2 separate regions of the Homo sapiens genome follow, and region 2 is linked to region 1. Evidence: promoter capture Hi-C in 16 types of primary human blood cells and fetal thymus (Javierre and others, 2016). All regions are on one chromosome and are shown on one strand. Each heading gives the region's core, a stretch centred on a gene start or on the middle of the fragment in contact. The rest is flanking DNA. Distances are from core to core; before and after follow the strand shown. Region 1 holds the start of OR52E4 (olfactory receptor family 52 subfamily E member 4). Region 2 has its middle 4.9 kb from the start of OR52A5.

Region 1 (4,260 bases), core at 1,090-3,589:
TGTACAACTCTGTAGCAACTAATGTAACCTGGATTGTATAATATTTATGCATGTACTGGCCTTATTTCTACAAAGAGAATAGCTGCAACTAAGAGTTGAGAACCAGGGGTAATCATTGTAATACTCTCAAAACTGCCACATGAATGTTGGTTCCCAGTTGTTCAGCATTTAATTGAATCAGAGTTGGGGTTTGTAATAAGTGTGCTTTTGTTTGTGTGTGAGTGTGTGTGACAGAGACAGAGAGTGAGAGAGAGAGAGAGAGAGAGAGACGGAGAAGGTTGGAGAGATAGGAGTAGAGAGAGAAATCATGTTTTATTATGTACGTGGCTGCATACATCAGTTGTCCTGTAACTTTGCCAGGTAGCTATTTTACAGCAGAAGTACACAAGCAAAGGAGTTAATAATTCCCCATTCTGTATGAGAAGAACAAGAGCATTTCTTGGTCCCCGAGAAGCTGAGAGAAAATTGAAAAAAGAACATAATGTTTGCCAGTATTGAGGAAAAGATGCCAGGCTGAAAAATCAGAGGGCAGTGGTTTTTGTGATTTCACCTGGGAGAGTCTGAGGAAATAGCTAGGATGATGTGTTGTGAGATTTACAGTCCAGAGTCAGCCCAATCTTAAGGGTGGCTGTGTCTCAACATGATACTTTGCCAGCTGAGAAAAACATTCCCAGGGAGATGGCAAAGAGGACGCTTCTCTGACAGTAAAATTCAAAGCTGCCAGCACATCCACCCTCTCACAGTTTTACCTGAATTCTTGCCTTCTTTCTGTTATAACTATATGCCACAGTAGCAGACAGTGTATGGCCAATAACCTCAAGATCATTTTTTGAGGGCAAATTATTAAGTTTGTTCTTCTCTAGATATGCACATTGACAAAGATCCCTACTGGAGTCCATCTGAAAAGACAAATTCATAACAATTAGCAATTTTTCTCTTATTGTGCTCACCAAAGTTCACATTTTGAACTTGTGATTTTTTTTACTTTGTTGGATTTTTATTTTTTTGCTGACTGTAGTAGAATATTACAGAAGTCTTCTGTGGACCTTAAAACTTTTCAGACATGGCTGGAAAACCTGCTAAACCATTTACTTGCTTGAGACCCTTGGACAGATTCTTTAACCAGATAGATCAGTTTTTTTTTCTCCTGTAAAAATGAGATGATAAATTATAACTAATGTGGTTTATTTTAATGATAAATAAGACCAATGTTTGTATAGGTGCTAGTGCATAGTGTATCCTCAACAAATTATACTTACTTATTTTATTAATGCTCCCAAATATTTTGTTTATTTAAATGCAAGATAGCTAAAATAATTCACCTGTTAGCAGAAAGAAGTTATTTCATTGTAAAAAGTCCAAATTATGTCACAGTTTGGCCTAAGATTAGATAAAGGAGGAATGGCTCAGAAGAGGCCAAAGTGAAGAAATGGCACAGAGTCAGACATTAATATTTATGTCTAGATTTTTATGGATACAAATATGACCCAATACTGCTCATTTAGAAAAGAAACAATTTTCTCCTCTTATTCTTACAGCTTTCCCAATCTTGGTGAGACCAAAGCAGTTGATGAATGGATAAAGTGGATAAATACCTTCATTCAGGCTCTTCCATAACTGTGCCATTGGCGGTTCAGTCCGGCTGATCTAGCAGGGGTATTGTGCTTACAATAAAAATGGCTTGGGGATGGTTCCATAAAGTAGTAGGGATATAGGGAACCAAGTTACAACTGGCAACATTAAATTCACTCAGACAATGAGGGAAACAGAGAATAAAACTTTACAGACCAAATATGTTAATGCCTATGTAATTGTATTTGAATATTGACATGTGATACCCACCCACCACCTTAAATAAACACATACAAAAGAAGTCTGCAATAACATCCTTTTGTCTTATTGACAACAAGTATGGCCATGCTACTATATGACTGTATTTGTGGTGTTTCGGCTGTGAACAGTGTACTCTGTGAGAATGTGTGTGTATGAGTGTATGTGTGTGTAAGAGAGAGGGGCAGAGAGAAAGGGGGGAGAGAGAGAGATACACAGACAGAAATTCTGTGCATTACTAATTGGTACACCACTGCCCTCACCAATCCCATGTGCTCTGTTGTGTTCCTCTGTGAAGAAAATGGTGCAATGGTGCTTAGGATAATTCCTCAGAAAAGTGGAAGAATCTGGCCTCTCTATCCTCATTTGCCCTCTTCTTCTCTCCTGTGTATCTTTTCACTTCTCCTGCACAAGCATTCTTACCTCTGTAATATTTCTTCTCCCAGCCCTCACTTGGAGCAGAATTGGAGCATGAGTCCAGGTTCTTAAAGACCGTGATTAGGTTCCCCTTGAAGCCTCTGAGCAACAAGCCTGCTTGGTAAAGTGGAGGCAACTTTATAGTGAGTGAGAGCATCCCTATGACCAGGCATGTCCCAGAATCCCCGAGCCTAGTCTTCGGAATCCTCTGGGCAGAAACATGGACTCGAGGGTCATTAAGTCATAGTAAGTCTTTATTCCTCTTCACTGCATCTGCAGAGAAACACCATGCTAGATATAACTCCTTAGCTCAGGGGAGCAGATGTGTTATGAAAGGATGGGAAGGGAGCTATCCTGAAGAGAGAGGAATCTGTTTGGGGAATGATGTTAATTCCGCTTCCCTCAGGAGCCATGAAAGCATTGATTTTGGACCATTAACTCTTCACAGTGTGACCATGAAACTGTTCTCAGCAACTTTTCTGTTTTAATATGTTTGTGTAAATCCTGATGTAGTTTCACAGCTGTTACAATTGAGGCTTCAAAAGATGAAGGAGAAGACATCTCAAATAGACAAATTAGACTCTGTGGTACAACTCTGTTTATTGGCAGTGTGCATGCCTGCAGATAATAGCAGCAACTTTCTTCCAACCCACCAAGATTCTCCTTCTCAGTCTATAACTAATGGTGAACAGATAGTCTTTGAAGAGAGGCTTTCATGTGTTTCAGCTCTTTTGGCAGAAAGTGAAGAAAATTCTACGTTTTCCTTATAAAACATATTATATTGTCCCTTCCAGCCAGAGCAGAGGTAGTGTTTCCTGAGAGGCTCCCTTCCTGAATGATGACATAGTAGACCCGATAGTACTACCAGGACATGCTGCAGAGCCTGGTTTTCCTGACTATAGTTAGAAATAGACTGAGGGAAAAATAAGTACATTAGACAATTAGTTGGTATTTTTTGCCTCCTAAGTTCAGACTATTTTGAGTTGTTAGCACAGAAACAGCAATGTCGTCTGTGGTCCAAGAGAGATTCTGGTTTGATCTGCCACGTTCTTGTGTTCATTACTTCTCTTTTGATTAATGAGAAAGTAACTCCTGAGGTTCCTGTTTCTCCCTCATTGTGTCCATCTTCCTTACTGTATCCACATTTATCTTCCCAAATCAAGTCTGACTCTATCCAATTTCTGCTTAAAATTCCTTCCCATGACCCCTACATTCTCCATTGTATACTGTAGACTTTATGTAATAAGGGGCAAACACCATTGTTGCCAAAGTCCTTCACTCAATACCCAATCAACTTTTTATACTTTCATTATACTACATGACTCCCGAACACACATCTTGTCTTTGATAATCAAAAGTCCTCCATATGAAATAACTTCATCTCATTTCTACTTTGCTTCAGCACTTTCTCAATTGTCCTATACTTCTTAATGACCTTTCATATGAATCAATCTGATATAATCTTTGTGTCTTTTGTATTTTCACATCAGTGTGTGCCACTATTATAACAGGCAAATTTTATTTTGTGTTGGTTTTGTGTTTTCTGTCTTCCATTATTTTATGGATTGATATTAGAGTGATGTTTAAGTCAACTTTATCCTTCAGTTCACTTAGTATAGTGCTTTGATTGTAGGAGGTGTTCTGGCATTGAATTACATTATTTTTAAAACATAAAAATTCTAGTTCTGTTAGGGTCATATCATATAATCATATATCTCCTAATTGGTCACTGTACCTACCCCTCTCCTATTCCCAAGACTATTTCACTGTGACTTCTAGAATCAATTTTTTATGAGCAGTGATATTATTTTTGGCCTTAAACCACTTCTGATGTTCTGTTTCTCTTCCTTTTGAAACAGAAACCCAGCTGTTCCCTGAGGACATTACTTCTGAAAAGTGTTGAAGGATTGGATATATTTTCCCACTATTTTCACTGTTTCCTCATGCCAAATAGCCTAAAGGCCTAGAGACTTTTTGTCTTGGACTTTTGACAGTTTGACATTATAATGCCTC
Region 2 (4,359 bases), core at 1,670-4,169, 740 kb after region 1:
GCTCAGGAGTGAAACTGCAGACCTTCACAGTGAGTGTTACAGCTCTTGAGGTGGCGCGTCTGGAGTTGTTCGTTTCTCCCGGTGGGTTCGGGTCCGGCTGGCTTCAGGAGTGAAGCTGCAGACCTTCGCGGTGTTACAGCTCATAAAGGCAGTGTGCACCCAAAGAGTGAGCAGGAGCAAGATTTATTGCAAAGAGAGAAAGAACAAAGCTACCACGAGCTTGCCACTGCTGGCTCGGGCAGCCTGCTTTTATTTGCTTATCTGGCCCCACCCACATTCCTGCTGACTGGTAGAACCGAGTGGTCTGTTTTGACAGGGCGCTGATTGGTGCATTTACAATCCCTGAGCTAGACACAAAGGTTCTCCACCTCCCCACCAGATTTGGTAGATACAGAGTGTCCACACAAAGGGTCTCCAAGTCCCTACCAGAGTAGCTAGATACAGAGTGTGGACTGTTGCATTCAGAAACCCTGAGCTAGACACAGGGTGCTGATTGGTGTGTTTACAAATCTTGAGCTAGATACAGAGTGCCGATTGGTGTATTTACAATCCCTGAGCTAGACATAAAGGTTCTCCACGTCCCCACCAGACTCAGGAGCCCAGCTGGCTTCACCCAGTGGATCCCACACCGGGGCTGCAGGTGGAGCTGCCTGCCAGTCCCACGCCCTGCGCCCGCACTCCTCAGCCCTTGGGTGGTCGATGGGACTGGGCGCCCTGGAGCAGGGGGCGGCGCTCGTCGGGGAGGCTCCGGCCGCACAGGAGCCCAAGGGGTGGTGGGGGAGGCTCAGGCATGGCGGGCTGCAGGTCCCGAGCCCTGCCCCGCGGGAAGGCAGCTAAGGCCCGGCGAGAAATTGAGCACAGCAGCTGCTGGCCCAGGTGCTAAGCCCCTCACTGCCCAGGTGCTAAGCCCCTCACTGCCCAGGGCCGGTGGGGCCGGCCGGCTGCTCCGAGTGCGGGGTCCGCCGAGCCCACGCCCACCCGGAACTCGCGCTGGTCAGCAAGCGCTGGGCGCAGCCCTGGTTCCCGCCCACGCCTCTCCCTCCACACCTCCCTGTAAGCTGAGGGAGCTGGCTCCGGCCTTGGCCAGCCCAGAAAGGGGCTCCCACAGTGCAGTGGCGGGCTGAAGGGCTCCTCAAGTGGGGCCAAAGTGGGAGCCCAGGCAGAGGAGGCGCCGAGAGCAAGCCAGGGCTGTGAGGACCGCCAGCACGCTGTCACCTCTCACTAGGACAGGTAAAATTAATTGAAAGTAATTTTTTTTTTTAAACAACAATGCTTTCCCCTGAAAAAGTAGGAATGGTCATGTTGGGAAAACTTTCTGGAGTGCAGGAAATATTTTATATCTTGATAGGATAATGAGTAACGTATTTGCAAAAAATAAGCTTAAGATCAATTTATTTTACTGTCTTTTCTTAGTAACAAAAGAGTAGTATAAACAAACACCAAACAGCTATTACATTTGCTTTTCATAGTAATATTGGCTAGCCATATGGGAGTTATTTACTGGGTATTCTAGGCTTGAAGAAATGAGAAAAACTGTTGAGGATAATGGAGGATAATTTTTATACTTGTGAAGAAAATAATTACTTGTAAGTAAAGTATTGAGACTAGAAAGAATCTTGAAGGTTTGGATTCCAATTGCAATTGCAAGTATGGATTCATTGTTTTTAATAAAGAGAGATACAAACATATGCAAATGTAATTATATAATTGTGTGTGTGTGTGTGCATGTATTTCCTCTGTTCACTTATAGGAACCAAAAGCAATGAACAAACAATGGCAATGAATAAACAATCCTTGTTTCAAGATACTGATTTTCTTAATAACTTTGTTCACAGAAAGAGACCAGGGCTTTTCGGAAAAATATCTGTTTCTGTGGCTTGAGCTGAAAAAGCATAAAGTAATTTGAAATGATGATGCAGAGATAGAAAGTAAGGAAGTACTCAAAGCATGATTGGAACATGTGGAAAGGACCCAAGATCTGGTTGGAAGGAGCTCCTTATGGCAAAATTTAGAAAATTTTGAGCATCAAAATAAATAATTATGGCAAAGGATTATAGCCCATTGAATAAAATCAGATTCTGTGAATCTATACAAACATAAGTAAAGCAATACAAATTTGGGAAAAGGGAATGTTCTTCTTTACAGTGTAATGCCAATAAATAAATAGGAAAGGTATGATGGATTTAAAAATTCATAAACAGAATAAAAAAACTCATGAGTGAAAGTGTTCAGAGGAGTGGACTATTTAAATCGTCTCAATAAATATATTTTTTCACAGATTTCTATGAAATACAAAGAGAAAAATAGCAACTTACCAAGAATCCAGAGTGACATCCCATTAACCAAGTGACTGAAACTAACCACATTAATATTAGAACATATCAGCATCATGTGATTAATGATATGGTGAACAGAGAAAGGCTATATTATTCTGCGATATTAAAAACAAACAAGCAAAACAGCATAGCCTGAATCCTAGTCATGAGGAAACACCAAAGAAACTTAAAATGATGGAAATTCTAAATAGTAAATGGATGTTCCTCAAAAATTCCACTATCAAGAAAGCGAAAGAAAAAAATTAAGAGGGAGGCAGTTTGGGGCTCTATAGAAAGAAGACCTCGTTGACTCTGGAAGCTGTCCTGCGATGTGGCACACTATCTCAGAAAAAAAACAAAAAAGAGAGGGAGAGAGTTTTCTGTCATGGGAAGGTTTCAGGCAGAGATCAAATGGTAACTTTAAAGATGATATAAAGGGATGAGATTTCTGATATTGTAGATAGTGTGGATTAACTCTAGGAGGGAGTGTAAATCTAGACTCCTAAATCCCTTAGTAGTTTTAGATCCTTGGAATTAGCTTGTATCAAAACTGGAGTGGTAGTTATTCAGGGTTTATTCACAGATCCAAGATATGAAAGAAAAGCTGAGGAGGTTTTGAAAATTCAAGAAGTCTAAAGAGACACGAAAATTAACTGCACTAGGTATTCCTGGATTGAATTCTGAAAAAAGAAAATATAGCTATAGATGTCATTGTTGAGACTATTGTCTAGCTTTAAACATGGACTTTATATTAGGTTATAATTTTATTTCAATGCTAACTGTCCTCATCTTGGTTATAATACCATAGTTATACAATGTAATGTCTTTTCCTTAGGAAATACAAACTTTAAAATTTAGATATAAAGGGTAACCATGTCTTCAATTTATTTGTAAACCATTCAGAAAAAAAAAATACTCCTTTTGCCTACCTACTGAACTAGTGATAAAGTACAATGGGGCAAAATATGAACAATTTGTGATAATGGGTACATGTGAATCTTTGTATACATGTTATAAGGGGAGCTGAGGCAGGAGAATAGTTTGAACCTGGGAGGTGGAGGTTGCAGTTAGCTGAGATTGCACCATTGCACTCCAGCCTGGACAACAGGGTGAGACTCTGCCAACAACAAAAAAGATTTTTCTATTATTTTATTGTTTTTTCATTAATATACTTTGGTTTTTGGATAAAATTTAGGTTTACAGAAAAACTGAGTAGAAAGTACAAAAGATTTCCATATATCCTTTCTACCCAGAATAAAGGTTTTGCATTTACATTTGAGCTATGCTTCCTTCTTGGTTATCAAATTACATCACCATATTTATTTATCATATCCTAATGTTTGAAAACATATATCTAGTGGTTTTTTTGTATAGTCTGTGTATACCATGCTAAGCCAATTATTATTTTTAATTGTGATATAATTCACATTCCAAATAATTAACCTGCTAAAGGTGTACAAGTCAGTGGATTTAGTATAGTCAGAAAATAATGCAACTATTACCACCCTGTAATTTCAGAACTTTTTTTTTTCCTTATTGAGATGGAGTCTCGCTCTGTCACCCAGGCTGGAGTGCAGTGGCATGATCTTGGCTCACTGCAACCTCCAGGTTCAAGTGATTTTCCTGCCTCGGCATCCCAAGTAGCTGGGACTACAGGCATGTGCCACCATGCCCAACTAATTTTTACAATTTTTGTTTGTTTGTTTTATGTATAGACAGGGTTTCACTATGTTGGCTAGGCTGCTCTCGAACTAATGACCCCAGGTTATCTGCCCACCTCAGCCTCCCAAAGCATTGAGATTACAGGCATGAGCCATCACACCCAGCCTCAGAACATTTTAATCACACCAATAATGAAATTCCATACCCACTGGCAGTCACTCCCCATTTCTTCCTGCTTCCAGATTCTGGTAATCACTCATCTACTTTCTGTCCCTATGGATTTGTGTATTCTGGATACTTCATATAAGTGGGTTTATACCACATGTTGCCTTTTATGTCTGGCTTCTTAGCGTAATCTTTTCAAGGTTCATTGATGTTTTAG

What was found. Contacts are between HindIII fragments. The CHiCAGO score rates a contact against its expected background, and 5 or more counts as called.
Region 2: a contact is called between a fragment that was not itself captured here and the fragment with the promoter of OR52E4 in region 1, in 1 of 17 cell types (monocytes). The highest score is 5.4, in monocytes.

Annotation. Positions count from the first base shown.
Region 1 is chr11:5,878,708-5,882,967 of GRCh38, reverse strand. It overlaps OR52E4 (olfactory receptor family 52 subfamily E member 4), which reads right to left and starts at 2,339. Exons shown (of 2, transcript NM_001005165.2): 1 at 2,254-2,339. LOC112268071 (a long non-coding RNA gene) reads left to right here. Exons shown (of 3, transcript XR_002957231.2): 3 at 1,539-1,873. The HindIII fragment of the contact is 16,575 bases long and covers 1-4,260 here.
Region 2 is chr11:5,141,094-5,145,452 of GRCh38, reverse strand. No RefSeq gene overlaps it. Among named protein-coding and RNA genes, the nearest start is that of OR52A5, 4.9 kb to the right of the region's middle. The HindIII fragment of the contact is 3,076 bases long and covers 1,382-4,359 here.